2 separate regions of the Homo sapiens genome follow, and region 2 is linked to region 1. Evidence: promoter capture Hi-C in human tissues and cell types (Jung and others, 2019). All regions are on one chromosome and are shown on one strand. The core of a region is centred on a gene start or on the middle of the fragment in contact, and the rest is flanking DNA. Distances in the headings are between cores, read along the strand shown.

Region 1 (6,970 bases), core at 1,085-3,584:
GTCTGCCAGTGGCGCTGTCGGTTGGGGTTGAACTCATTCTGGAGATCCCAGTCAGTGATCTCAAAGTTCTCCCGCTCGTCATCATCATCATCAATGCGGCCTTCCCCATCCCGGTATAAGTGGGACAATGACATGGCCAGTCACTAAAGGAAGAGACAAAAAGAGCACAGGCCGTAAGTCCTGGGGGCAGCAGTCGAAGGATTCCTTGTGAGTCTCTATTCCTTGCTGCTTTCAGAACTTTCTCCAAATTCAAAGTCCATTAAAGTCAGCATTACTATTCAATAAAAAAGATATTAAAAACCTACTTTTAGATAACAATCAGTACTAAAACAGGTGAACAAAATACTACTCCTAACAGTCTATGATTCTTTAAAAGTACATATCTCCTTGTCCTAGTCAATATCATAAATATCACACATATTCACACATACACAAACCACACAAAAATAACTAAGTAGGTTATTTTGTACATTATTACCTTAGAAAATGAGTAGGTATCTTCTTAGATCCCAGATTCTTTTTTCTATTACTGAGGAAAGAATTATATCTGGATCCTTGGTGGTCCTAGGAGAGTGATTTTTTTTAGAATATGCTTTTTGAAATACATTACTTGATGAAACAAAATTTTCAGTTTTCCTCACAAAACATGAATTTCTTCTGATGAACTGAAAGACTGTAGTAATTATGAACACTATTTTAATAGTCAGATGTCCAGAGATTGATATAGAGAATCTACCTCACAGTAGCTGGGTGACCAGATTCAGTTGTCTTTCTTAAATTGGGATTAACTACCATACCAACCTTAGAGAAGGCTTACAAAGCAAATTCAATGAGTTCAAAATAAGTGCTCAAGAAACGATAGCTTCTACTTTAGTCCCATGATTAGGTTAATCATTGTATTAGTCAGGGTTCTCTAGAGCGACATAACTAATGGAATAGACATACATATATAAAGGGGAGCTTATTAACTATTAACTCACACGATCAAAAGGTCCCACAATAGGCTGTCTGCAGGCTGAGGAGCAAGGAGAGCCAGTCAAGTTCCAAAGCTGAAGAACTTGAAGTCCAATGTTCGAGGGCAGGAAGCATCCAGCACAGGAGAAAGATATAGGCTGGGAGGCTAGGCCAGTCTCTCTTTTCACATTTTTCTGCCTGCTTATATTCTTGCCGTGCTGGCAGCTGATTAGATTATGCCCACACAGATTGAATTGAGGGTGGGTCTGCCTTTCCCCACCCACAGACTCAAATGTTAATCTCCTTTGGCAACACCCACATAGTCACACCCAGGATCAATACTTCGTATCCTTCAATCCAATCAAGTTGACACTCAGTATTTACCATCACAATCATCATTATTATTATGGGACTAGGGAGTAAACTTAGCAAAGTGACTGTAAAATCAGGCAGGCTAAAATCGAAGCCTGAGTTCAAATTCAACTCTATCAGATACCCAGTGTATGAGAATTAAATATGCACGTGAAGCGCCAAGCATGGTGCACTACACAATAATACACTCCATAGGTGACAGCAATTGTGATTCTTGTCTTGCTGAAAGCGGCCTTAAGGCACACGGAGTTCACTACTTCCACAGGCAGTGTCAAACTCTGGTCACCTCTGGCAAAACGTTATCTCTGCCTTCTTCTACTCACTGGTGCACCGGTTGGGTGCAACGGGTCCCAACCTCTTCCAGGAGTGTTTAGGACAGAAGGATTTTCAGAAAAGACGGGGAATCTCAAATACATAAAGTTAAATAATACCACTGCCTGCGTGGGCATAGTAAATGGTAATAAGCCCCGAGTAGTCACAAGTTATGAAGCCTTTATCAGTAGATGCTAGGTACATGCTGGTCGCTTGAGACCGATTATCAACTGTCTGCATCAAGACACTTCTGCAAGGTAGGTACCGTTAGTTTTCATGCTTCAGATAAGAAAAAGGAGGTTCAGAGAAGTTAGTAACTTACCCTAGGTTCCACTGCTCATAGGGCTCAAACTCAGGAGTGCTAGAAGTCAGGCCTCGGGCTTGTCTCTCTCTTGCTGTCTAGGTTTGGTGAAGGAAGCTCAGGTTCTTAAATGAATCCAAGCCCTAAATCCCAGTTGACCCCAAGCAGCACCGCCCCTCTCCGTGCCTCGGCAGAGCTGTCTACGAAATGGATTCCCCTCCCCACACCCCAACGGCTTGGACCGAAGCTCGCCTTCCCTGAGCCTTCGTCCCTACTCTCACTGGCGCTGAGTCCCCTTGTGGCCAGCCGTGCTCACCTGTCCGAGGGTCCAGCGTACCAAATTCAGCTTCACCATCCGCGCGAGAAGACGCCGCTCCTACACCAGAACCCGGAAGCACCGTGGCCGGCGCGCCGGAAATGACGTTAGTCGACAGCGGATGTCCTGCTGGCTGCCAGGGCAGCGTGGGACGCTACGGCGGATATGGCTGCAGAGCGGCCGGCTGGGATCTTAGATAGGAGGGGTGGATTTGCAAGGCCTAGAATAGCTGGGGAGTGGTTTCCCCGCGGAATCGGCCTCCCTGCCGCTCCTGCTTTGTACTGTGACGCTCAGCCTGTGATGACTGGTGTGGAATCCGCTGAGCCACCTTGGCCTAAGGAGACTTTACCACTCTGAGATTGTAAATCTGTAAAATAGAGATGTAGGATTAGCCCATACGGTAGTTGTGGTAAATACTGTGAGACAATAAGGGGCCTGGGACACAGCATTCAAATGGGAATAATGAAGGTCAAGACTGTGATTCCTGTATCTTTGACGCTCTCGGTATAAGCACCGTCGTGGGCACAGGGCAGTGGCCTTTATGCAGGAGTTTAAGAGGGAATGAAGGAATGAATGGGCAAACTCTGGAGTTCCCAAGTATTCTCTCCAGGAGCTGTTTCCATTCTTTTCGTTTCCAGCAGGTTGGTAAATTCATTAATTTATTCATTGATCTAATTAAAATATACTAAGTGCCCCTCACCTGTGCTAGGCCAATGTGATACAATGAGCAGAACAGTCATGGGCCCTCCCTGGGAAGCCCTCACTAGCCCAAGGACTCCTTGTAGACATTTAAGTGTCCACAGGCTCTGGAGTTCCAACCTTGAGTGCAATTTAGCAGCTGTGGACCTTGGGCAAGTCATTACATCTAAGCCTGTTTTCTCTTCTGCAAAATGGTTAAGGATTCAATAAGATAAAACTGTAGGCAATGAAAACCGTACCTGGTAACAGTAGGTGCTGAAGAAGTGTTAGCTATTAATTTTTGCTTAATTTTTCTCTCTCTGCTCTATGTGATGAAAAGATTCAAGAGGCAATTGTTGGAATGTAAAAAGAGCACGGGACTTGGAGTCAAATACTTAAGTCTACCATCAAGTAGTTGTTAAGAATTAAACAACAATTTTTGTGTACCCAGTTAAATGTGGGCTGCTTAGGAATGATGACTGTGTCTTAATGATCTCTGTATTCTTAGTGACATGTAGAATCATTGTGCCTGACACATAGTATGTACTCAGGAAAGAAATGGAAAATGTGGTTTTAGCATTGAAGGCCGGGAGAGAGGGTCTAACAGACTACAAGCCCTGCCAGGAGCAGAGTAAGGGAAACAGAGGAGAAAAGTGTTTTTAGTCTGTGCCTGAATGTATTTACATCTGTTTGTAGCCCAAAAGCCAAAAGCATACATACGCTTGGCTTTTCTGTAGCTATGTTTATGGCTTTACAGCAGATTTTATGGAGCTGCAATTACTTTGATCATGAGGGACTGATGCTAGTGGATTTACTTCACCAAATGGAACTCACTTTGTGGCTTCTGAAGAAGGGACCTTTGTGGACTGTCATGGAGTAGTTAAGAGTGCAGGCTCTGATTTAGTGATCAGAGTCTGCATTGTCAGGAATGGGACAAAGTGAAGTTATGTGGCACTTGATAGGATGCCCTGAGAAGATTGCAACATCACCCCTGTGATATTCCTGCTGAAGATCCATAACCTGGATGTAATCATGAGGATATATCAGACAAACCCACGTAAAGAGACATGCTGTATACAAAACTGTAATCTTAGAAAGTGCCAAGGTCATGAAAATCAAAGATAGACCCTGGAACTGTTCCAAACTGGAGGGGACCAAAGAGGCATGACAACTAAACACAACACATGATTCTGAACTGGATCTTTTTGCTTGAAAGGAAGTTACAGGGACAGTTGGAAAAGTTTAAATGGGGCCTACAATGCCGTGGTAATGATGTGTCCGTGTTAATTTCCTGATTTTCATGGTTGCCTGTTAAGTTACATCAGAGGATGTTCTTGTTTGCTGGAAAGTAAATCAATGTATTTGGCAGGGGATAAGGCATCAAATGGTCACCTTAATTTCAAATTATTACAGGGAAAATGTTTCTCTCTGTACTTAATAACTTTTTTGCAATTTCTTAAAATGAAAGCTCTGGAGTAAAAACTTCAAGGATCCAAATCTCGACTTTGCTACTTCTTAGGTATGGGCCCGAGGGCAGGTTGCTTCACCTCTCTACACCTCAATTTTTCCATCTGTAGATTGGGGATAGTGACAGTACTGATCTAAGAGAGTTGTTTAGAGAAAAACAAAAACAGAAAGTGATAATTAGTGCATGTAAAGCTCCTGGCATGGTAAGAGCTTTCTAAAGGATTGTGGCTATATTCTTATTTATTTATTTATTTATTTATTGAGACAGAGTCTCACTCTGTCGCCCAGGCTAGAGTGCAGCAGCACAATCTTCGCTCATTTGCAACCTCTACCTCCCAGATTCAAGTGATTCTCATGCCTCAGCCTCCCGAGTAGCTGTCATTACAGGCGCAGCTGTAGTGATTCTCATGCCTCAGCCTCTCGAGTAGCTGGCGTTACGCCGCCACGCCCAGCTAATTTTTGTTTTTTTATTTGTTTTAATTTTTTTTTCCCCCAGACAGAGTCTCACTGTGTCACCCAGGCTGGAGTGCAGTGGCACGATCTCAGCTCACTGCAACATATGCTTCCTGGGTTCAAGCAATTCTCCTGTCTCAGCCTCCTGAGTAGCTGGGATTACAGGTGTGCGCCACCACGCCTGGCTACTTTTTGTATTTTTATTAGAGATGGGGTTTCAACATGTTGGCCAAGCTGGTTTCGAACTCCTGACCTCGTGATCCACCTGCCTTGGCCTCCCAAAGTGCTGGGATTACAGGCGTGAGCCACTGCGCCAGCCTTCATTTTTAAAAACCCAATGTCATACCCCTTTCAGTCTCAAAAATCCATGGTTTTTCAGGATTTCTGGGATCAAATGCCCAGCCTTTGAAAAACAAGGAAAAGTTTTACAAGGCAACCAGAGCTTTAGGTTCAAGGTCTCATATCTATCGTGATCTCCTGTCATTTCCTAGAGGGGAAAAAAAAAAACAAAAACATTGCTTTGAGATTTGGGAACATCCACACTCATTTCTACATTCCCAATGAGGTGCTCAGACATGTGGCCTTCGCAGAAGGGGTTGCCAAAGCAACAAGGCTCCTTGGGCAGAAGGAGTCTGGCAGGGCCCTCCAGCACTCATGGGTCTATACCTCTCTTTTCGCAGCTGAGGCGGTGGGGGAGCCCCTGGCAGAGTGGAGGTGCCAGCACCACACAGTGAGTTTAAGGACAGGGCCAGGCCTGAAACCCAGGAGCTCAAACTCCCAGGCAGGTGCTTTCTTTGCAAAACCATGCATGGGGTCCCACATCATGATTCCTGTGTGTTCAGGGCCACAGAGCCAAACTCTGCAGACATCATCTCTTTGATTCTTCAGCCTTCTAAGGTAGTTTGTTATAACCCCAGAGTCCACATTCCTAACCTCTTATTTCTACAGCCTATGCCATACAGCACACTTTCCATATTGCCTACAAAAGATTTCGGGAAAAAAATATCGTCACTTAGTTACAACTTTAAATAGGTTGGTACCATAGAAACAATCCATAAGTGGCATTTCAAAGCTGATATATTTAAAGACTAGCACATGTACTTTTTCTAGGACAGTGACATTATACAGTTGCACATGGCTTATTCTTATTTTGCATTTTGTCCCAAAAATATATATGGTGTCCTTAACTTGGCAGAATTGAGAACCCAGATCAGCTGAGATTAGCAATTTGATTTCCCTCTAAATGTTTCTTACAGATGGTTTCTACCCTACTTATCTTTCAAGAATTCGTGAAGACTCTATCCTTATATGGAAAGCTGGAACATGAGGTTCCTTAGGCTCGGGGTGTTTATCTGGAAATTAAATATCCGCAAAACACAGTAAGGGGAGAAACCACAGCCTTCATCATTCATTTATTCATTTGTCATTAACAAATAATTAATGAGTACCTACATGTTATCTATTGCAGTATAACAATTACCTCCAAACGTAGCAGCTTGCAACACCAGTAAACATTATCTCACATAATTTCTTTTGGTAGGAATTTGAGAGTGGCTTAGCTGGGTGGTTCTGACTCAGGGTCTTTCATGGGGTTGCAGCCATCTGAAGGCTTGACCAGGGCTGGATGACCAACTTCCAAGGTGCTTCTCTCACATAGCTGGCAAACTGGTGCTGGTTGTTGGCAGGTTTCAGTTTCTTGCCATGTGAGCCTCTACACATGGTTACCAAGTGTCGTTATGACATAGTGGCTAGCTTCCCTCAAAATGAGCAAAGCAAGAGAGAGCAAGGCAGAAGCCACAAGGTCTTTTATGGCCTAGTCTTGGAGTCACACTGTCATTTCTGCAATATCTTTTTTTTTTTTTTTTTTTGAGACTGAGTTTTGCTCTGTCACCTAGGCTGTAGTACAGTGGCGTGATCTCGGCTCACTGCAACTTCTGCCTCCCAGGTTCAGGCAATTCTCCTGTCTCAGCCTCCTGAGTAGGTGGGACTACAGGCGCATGCCACCACACCCGGCTAATTTTTGTATTTTTATTAGAGACGGGGTTTCACCATATTGGTCAGGCTGGTCTTGAACTCCTGACCTCAGGCAATCCACCTGCCTCAGCCTCCCAAAGTGC
Region 2 (7,246 bases), core at 1,810-4,309, 58 kb before region 1:
CTTTAGAGATGACGGCTGCAGCTGCCAGTGCCCTGGGGCTCTGAGCAGAACCTCCACTGCAGAAACTAAGCAGGATCAAAGGAGGAAAGAAAGGGGCACACCTGCAAAGTGAAGTTTCAGGACTTTACTTTTTCTGAGTTAATCCAGGTGCATGAGACTTTTCCATATACACGGATAGGCTTTGTACGGTTCCATTTTGGGTCAGTGGAAGAATTTTCACAACACAAATGACATTATAAAGTTGTCTTCGCTGGCCTGGTACTGGGGACCACTGGTCAAAGACAACGTGAGACATTGCGGGGACTTCCTGGAGCTGCAGCAACCACAGCAGAGAACTTGTAATCAATTTTTTCTGGGAGAACATAGCAGAGGAGTAAGACAACATTTATCCTAGCTTCGGATAGGATCCTCTTCCATCTAGGCAGATGGGATCCAAGAGACAGCAGAGATCCTGGAGAGAGGTGATAGAAGAGGGAGACACAGGCTTGGTGTATTGGATCAGCTGCAGCTGGTGCTCCCTGGAGCAGCAGGCTGCAGCCTGGCAGCCCTACAAACAGACGGTCCTTACCCAGCCACACTGAACCCAGGGAAGGAAAAGAGGGATGCGCCCACGTTACGCGCGCGCGCGCGCGCGCACACACACACACACACACACACACACACACACACACACTGTCTTAACCCTTACCTTTGTCACAAAAAAATGCTGCCATTTAATTACTCAGAACTCCAGCATTTTTTGGCTATTTTATTTCTAGCCCTTGGAAGCTTGTTTCAAGAAAAAGACACCATATCATAAACATCAGATATCAGTTCACTGACATGAAATTATTAACAATACAACTCTCAAATGGAATCTCAAGTACTTCCAGTAAACATTCAGTTAAGATTTTGACAAATATTTTCATCCTGCAGTCTGTCTCATACTGTCAAAAAAATGTCTGACTATAACGTAATAGAACTGAGGTTCTAAGTACCACACAAGCCCAGGAACACACAGCTGAGTGTCGCTCCCTTTCACGCAGCCACCACTGAAAAGCACAGTGCTTTTACCCCCAGACATCTTGTAAACTCCTATTTAGGGACACTCGCTCGAGAGGAACCAGCTGCACGGCCCACTTGTAGTCAAAGGCAGCGCAGGTTGGTCCTGTTGTCACTGAATTCTCAGGGCTCAGCCCCCAGAGCTTTTATAAAGGGATCTCTAAAGCCCAAACTCCCTTCCATATTATTAAGGCTTGCCCCCATTGTGGGTCCAAAGAAGACGCCCCTAGATTTGAGTAGAGTTCCAACAGAATTCAACCAAGTGGTCTCCGTGTGCTGCCGCTTCCCTGCAGGAACGATCCGGACCTCCCAGCAAGAGCGCACTGGAGAAACCTACCTGCGGCGTGGGAGTGGAGTCGGCCTGCTCACAGATCCGGCACCTCGCTGTGCAGTCACACCGCCTACCACCACCTGGTGTGGGGGTTGAACACACACACTCTGGGCTAGTGGACGATCAGGTTCTAGAAAAAATGCCAACTTGGAAGCTTGTGGCACCAATTCAAGCTGGGATGGAACAGCAGGAGATATGAAATACCTCAGGCTCAGTATGGCAGAGAGGGAGCCAAGCCCGTCCCGGCCCCAACACTACCGATTAAATACAGTTCTTTATCAAGTGCTCTGGGTCTGCCGACCTGAAGAACTAACCCCTGCCCCCAAAACACATCCCAATCTGCAAAAGGAATAACAAAAACTCAAATATCATTTGGTTCCTAAAAAAGGGAATGTTTTCAAGAAAAATAAAATAGAGGGGCCTTTTCAATTATAAAAGGCAGAGCTTCCTTTGCTGGTTTTCTCCTTCCCAGTCACCTCCTGGGTGCAGTTCAGAGCAAGTTCACCCCGTGCTTCAGCAGCTTCTGCTTTGCTTTGCCGGAGAGGCTGAAGGCGCCATCCTGAGGGTTTGGGAAGCCGGAGCTCCGTGCTGCAGGTGCCAGCTGCTGGAAATATGTCTCCTGGATGGGGTTGCAACAGGCGTACACAGCCGTGGAGGCATTTCTGTTGGAGGAAGAAAGAAGGCAACGGTCCAATGCTGCTGGTGCTAATCTCAGACCACACAGAGACCTCAGTAAGGTTCTTGTCACAGAGGACCCAGGACACCCAATGTGGCATGTGCAGCTGTCATGGCACGGAATTCTATTTCTTCAGCTGAGTTTCAGGCTTCAGTGCCAATACCATCTTTCCTTCCTTTCAGCTCACTAGATGCTGGAAGAGTCCGTGGCGGGACCATCCACAGTGGCAGCAGCCACAGATCCTGGAGTTATAAGTATTGCATAAAGGAACTGTGGAGTGCTGGCTTTTTTGACATACTGGCAGCTATGCAATGTGCTCTGCATACAGTCTCTGCTTTGCCCCTCACATAAGCTCTGCAGTGGTGGTATGGTCCCATTTCACAGACAAGGACCCTGAGGCTCAGAGTGAGTAGCTGGGGCTGCCCTGCCTCTATGACGAGGCAATGGCAGTGTCCGAGAAAGGAGTCTAGTCTGCTCTCCACACTGGGGGTGGCTGGATAGACTGAGAGGGAGTGAAGGACAGGAGTGGGATGTGACACGAAGTGACAGGAAGCCTGTGGACACAGAGAGGGAGGGATGAGGGCACTACACAGAGGCGGAGCCACCTGGGAGGAGCCAACTCCAGGCCAAGGTAAACAAACCCCCCTGGTTTCTGGATCCTGCCTCTCCAACTATTATGGGCCTCAGTTTCCCCCAAATCTAGTGAGAAAGGGTGGAGTCAGGGACTGCTAAGGCTCCCCTCACTCAATTCTCTCCTTCCCTGTAAGGGAGAAAAATCCCACCCTATTCCAAGCTTCAGTGTCTCCTGCACCCACTGGCCCAGCAAGACAATCTCTTCTCACAGCCCTGTGGGAGGGCTCCGAGGCCAGATGGTTATGAGCATGGATCTGGAGTCACACACACTCAGGTGCTAATCCCAGCCCTATTACTTCCTAGTGTGTGTCCTGGGCTGCTATTCAACATTTCTGAGTCCCAGCTTTTTCATCTGTACAGTGTTTGTTGCAACAGTATGTGTCCTCATTGGTGTTTTTGTTTTGTTTTGTTTTAAAGAATGAGATTAAGTGAGTGCTTAACACATTGTGAGTGGTTAAGAAATGGTAGCTGTTCATATGTAGAAAGCTGAAACTGGATCCCTTCCTTACACCTTACACAAAAATTAATTCAAGATGGATTAAAGACTTACATGTTAGACCTAAAACCATAAAAACCCTAGAAGAAAACCTAGGCAATACCATTCAGGACATAGGCATGGCCAAGGACTTCACATCTAAAACACCAAAAGCAATGGCAACAAAAGCCAAAATTGACAAATGGGATCTAATTAAACTAAAGAGCTTCTGCACAGCAAAAGAAACTACCATCAGAGTGAACAGGCAACCTACAGAACGGGAGAAAATTTTCGCAACCTACTCATCTGACAAAGGGCTAATATCCAGAATCTACAATGAACTCAAACAAATTTACAAGAAAAAAACAAACAACCCCATCAAAAAGTGGGCGAAGGATATGAACAGACACTTCTCAAAAGAAGACATTTATGCAGCCAAAAAACACATGAAAAAATGCTCATCATCACTGGCCATCAGAGCAATGCAAATCAAAACCACAATGAGATACCATCTCACATCAGTTAGAATGGCGATCATTAAAAAGTCAGGAAACAACAGGTGCTGGAGAGGATGTGGAGAAATAGGAACACTTTTACACTGTTGGTGGGACTGTAAACTAGTTCAACCATTGTGGAAGTCAGTGTGGCGATTCCTCAGGGATCTAGAACTAGAAATACCATTTGACCCAGCCAACCCATTACTGGGTATATACCCAAAGGATTATAAATCATGCTGCTATAAAGACACATGCACACGTATGTTTATAGCGGCACTATTCACAATAGCAAAGATTTGGAACCAACCTAAATGTCCAACAACGATAGACTGGATTAAGAAAATGTGGCACATATACACCATGGAATACTATGCAGCCATAAAAAATGATGAGTTCATGTCCTTTGTAGGGACATGGATGAAACTGGAAACCATCATTCTCAGCAAACTATTGCAAGGACAAAAAACCAAACACCACATGTTCTCACTCATAGGTGGGAATTGAACAATGAGAATACATGGACACAGGAAGGGGAACATCACACACTGGGGCCTGTTGTAGGGTGGGGGGAGGGGGGAGGGATAGCATTAGGAGATATACCTAATGCTAAATGACGAGTTAATGGGTGCAGCACACCAACATGGCAAATGTATACATATGTAACACACCTCACGTTGTGCACAGCACATGTACCCTAAAACTTATAATAATAATAAAATTAAAAAAAAAAAGAAATGGTAGCTGTTGTTTCTATTACTGTTATTGAAATAATCTCTCAACAAATGCCTTGAGCTATGTGTCTCAACACTAAACCCCTCTCAGCTCTAAGGAAGGTGACATACTGCAGGGCCACAAGGTGGTTGGTGGAGCAGATGCTGACATTTTACTTGTTTCCACCTCCCACAAAACAGACACACACACCCCCAACACAGCCAGTTCCCAAACCAGTGACTGTAGATGCAAGTTGCCTCTGGGTTGCCAGCCTGGGGCAGCTGTGAATTAAAGCCAGAGAAGACACATTTCTGACAGAAAGATCTATTGGAATATTGGCTGGAGACGCTGAGAGGCAGCAGAACACCTGGCGCTCAAGTGTGGCGGGTGACAGGGAATCAGAACCATCCTAATCACCCACCCAGGCTCCCTGTCAGTCCACCACCCATGCCCCTCACACTGGACCACACTGCCCCGACACTGAAATGTGTGTGGAAAGGTCATACATGTGCTTAACAGTTGGAGAAAATGCTTCAAATCCTGGCCCTGCCACTTAAGAAGAATATAACCCTGGGCAAGCTGCTTATCCTATTTGTGCTTCAATTTTCTCATCTGTAAAATGAGGATTTAAAAAATGCCCTTGAAGCCGGGCGTGGTGGCTCACGCCTGTAATCCCAGCACTTTGGAAGGCCAAGGTGGGCAGATCACTAGGTCAAAACATTGAGACTATCCTGGCCAACATGGTGAAACCCTATCTCTACTAAAAATACAAAAATTAGCTGGGCATGGTGGCAGGTGCCTGTAGTCCCAGCTACTCAGGAGGCTGAGGCAGAAGAATTGCTTGAAACCAGGAGACAGAGGTTGCAATGAGCCGAGACTGAGCCCCTGCACTCCAGCCTGGCGAGAGTGAGACTCCATCTCAAAATAAATAAATAAAAAATAATGCCCTTGACCAGATGGTTCCAAGGACTACGTGGACTAATATACACATTGCCAGCACTGCCCTTGACCTGCTAACTTGCTTTATTTTCTGTTACCAGTTGTCAACCAAATTCTCAGGTCCCAGTCTCCTCGGGCTTTTATAAAGTGATCTTTAAAGCCCAAACTCCCTTTCTGGTTTCATAAGAGAAGCATATAGAAAGAAAAAAACAAATTCGGTTGGTTAAATACTGTAAATTACAATAATCATAATATTTCTTCTGGCATGGAGGTGTTCAAGCTATGACATAATGTGAAAAAAGACAACTGTAAAATTGTACATTAGTAGAATCCTATTTTCTAGAAGACTTAAAATAATTAAAAATACAATTTATATGTGCAAAAAATAAAAACCAAAAACCAATAAAACCTGGAGCAATATATACCAAACTGTAAAATGTGGTTATTTCCTGGTGTGTGATGGAGATGAGAGAGGAAAATGTTTTACTTGATACATTTCCAAGCATTCTGCATGACTGTATGATCAGCACGTATTACTTTTTTTTTTTTTTTTTTTTTTCTGAGACGCAGTCTCACTCTGTTGCCCAGGCTGGAGTGCAATGGTGTGATCTCAGCTCACTATAACCTCTGCCACCCGGGTTCAAGTGATTCTCCTGCCTCAGCCTCCTGAGTAGCTGGGACTACAGGCACCCACCACCCTGCCCAGCTAATTTTTTGTATTTTTAGTAGAGACAGGGTTTCACCAGGTTGGCCAGGCTGGTCTTGAACCCTGACCTCAAGTGATCCCCCTGCCTCGCAAAGTGCTGAGATTACAGGTGTGAGCCACTGTGCCCAGCCATATTACTTTGTAATTAGAAAGACAACAATATTTCAACACTGTTTCTAGCAAGGAGACGGAGCCACCGTCCCTAGTAATGGATGTAGCTCCATGATGGTGAGGACCTCAGGTTCCTTCACTGCTGGACCCCAAGCGTCTAAAGTAGGAAGGGAACCAGAAAGTCCATGGCACGTGACTGCACAACAGTGGATGATGGCGGCAATAGGAACCGACAAAGGAAGGCCTTAAGGAGAGTAACTAGAATGTTTTTCATCTACTTAGGAATAAGGCGCTGCCTGGGCCCCACAGGTGGTTCCCATGAGCAGGACCGTGGAGAGTAGGTTGGGGAGCGACTCAGGGAGGCTCACCTGACAGTCATTTCATAAAGCGCGGGCAGCTGGGCAAATTCGCTATGCATCAGGCTGACGGCCTGGAGGAAGCGGCGATCCTGCGGGGTGGCCACCTGCGGCAGGTTTGCTTCCAGAAGAGGACACAGAGTTGTGAAGAGCAGACAGTTACCTTCTGCCCTCCCACCCCATGAAGCCCAGTACTGAACACGGGGACTGAGCACGGCTCAAGGCCATGAGTTGGCTGCCCGGGGCAGAGACAAAGGCCCGGGGCATTGGGCTTCGGCTGCCGCCGCTGTGCGATGCAGCACCCGGTTTCTGCGTGTGGATCTCAACATTCTGAGACAAACCCTATCACAGATATGTGAACATGAACTTCTCTCAAAACACTGGGAAACGCCAAAAACAGACACATGAGCAGAGAAGCGTCTGCCCAGTGAACGCCACACTCAGTGGGACTGGGCTCCCGGTGAGAAGAGAGCCCTGAACGCAGGTCAGACAACTCTGTGCACAGCCGTGTCATCATGATGCTGGGGCTCAAGTTCTCATCTCCACCCATCTAGAATCTGGCATCCCCGTCGCCCCAGGCCCCTTGGCTGGTTCTTACCCATCAGCAAGCTCTGAATGCGGTCGTAATGTGTGAAGTTGTAGGTGCTGCTCGTGGAGGCTGCCTCATCCCTGGGCAGCGTCTCTTTCAGGTGGACTTCCAGCCCATTCAGTGAAGCCAGGCTGCTGTGGTACTGCAAAGGGGGAGAGGGTCATGGGCTTGTAGGGCTGAC

The links. Contacts are between HindIII fragments. The study calls those that stand out against the background at their distance.
Region 2: a contact is called between a fragment that was not itself captured here and the fragment with the promoter of TFIP11 in region 1, in 2 of the 25 tissues and cell types used here (neural progenitor cells and pancreas).

The regions. Positions count from the first base shown.
Region 1 is chr22:26,510,139-26,517,108 of GRCh38, forward strand. TFIP11 (tuftelin interacting protein 11) reads right to left here and starts at 2,335. Exons shown (of 15, transcript NM_012143.4): 1 at 2,256-2,335; 2 at 1,961-2,037; 3 at 479-564; 4 at 1-143. The coding sequence starts at 134. It overlaps TFIP11-DT (TFIP11 divergent transcript), which reads left to right and starts at 2,394. Exons shown (of 2, transcript NR_144529.1): 1 at 2,394-2,896; 2 at 3,274-4,430. RefSeq lists enhancers at 2,218-2,397, 2,620-3,157. The HindIII fragment of the contact is 22,947 bases long and covers 1-6,970 here.
Region 2 is chr22:26,451,371-26,458,616 of GRCh38, forward strand. HPS4 (HPS4 biogenesis of lysosomal organelles complex 3 subunit 2) reads right to left here. Exons shown (of 14, transcript NM_022081.6): 12 at 7,075-7,207; 13 at 6,489-6,597; 14 at 1-2,034. The coding sequence ends at 1,863. Among named protein-coding and RNA genes, the nearest start is that of ASPHD2, 26 kb to the left of the region's middle. The HindIII fragment of the contact is 5,351 bases long and covers 385-5,735 here.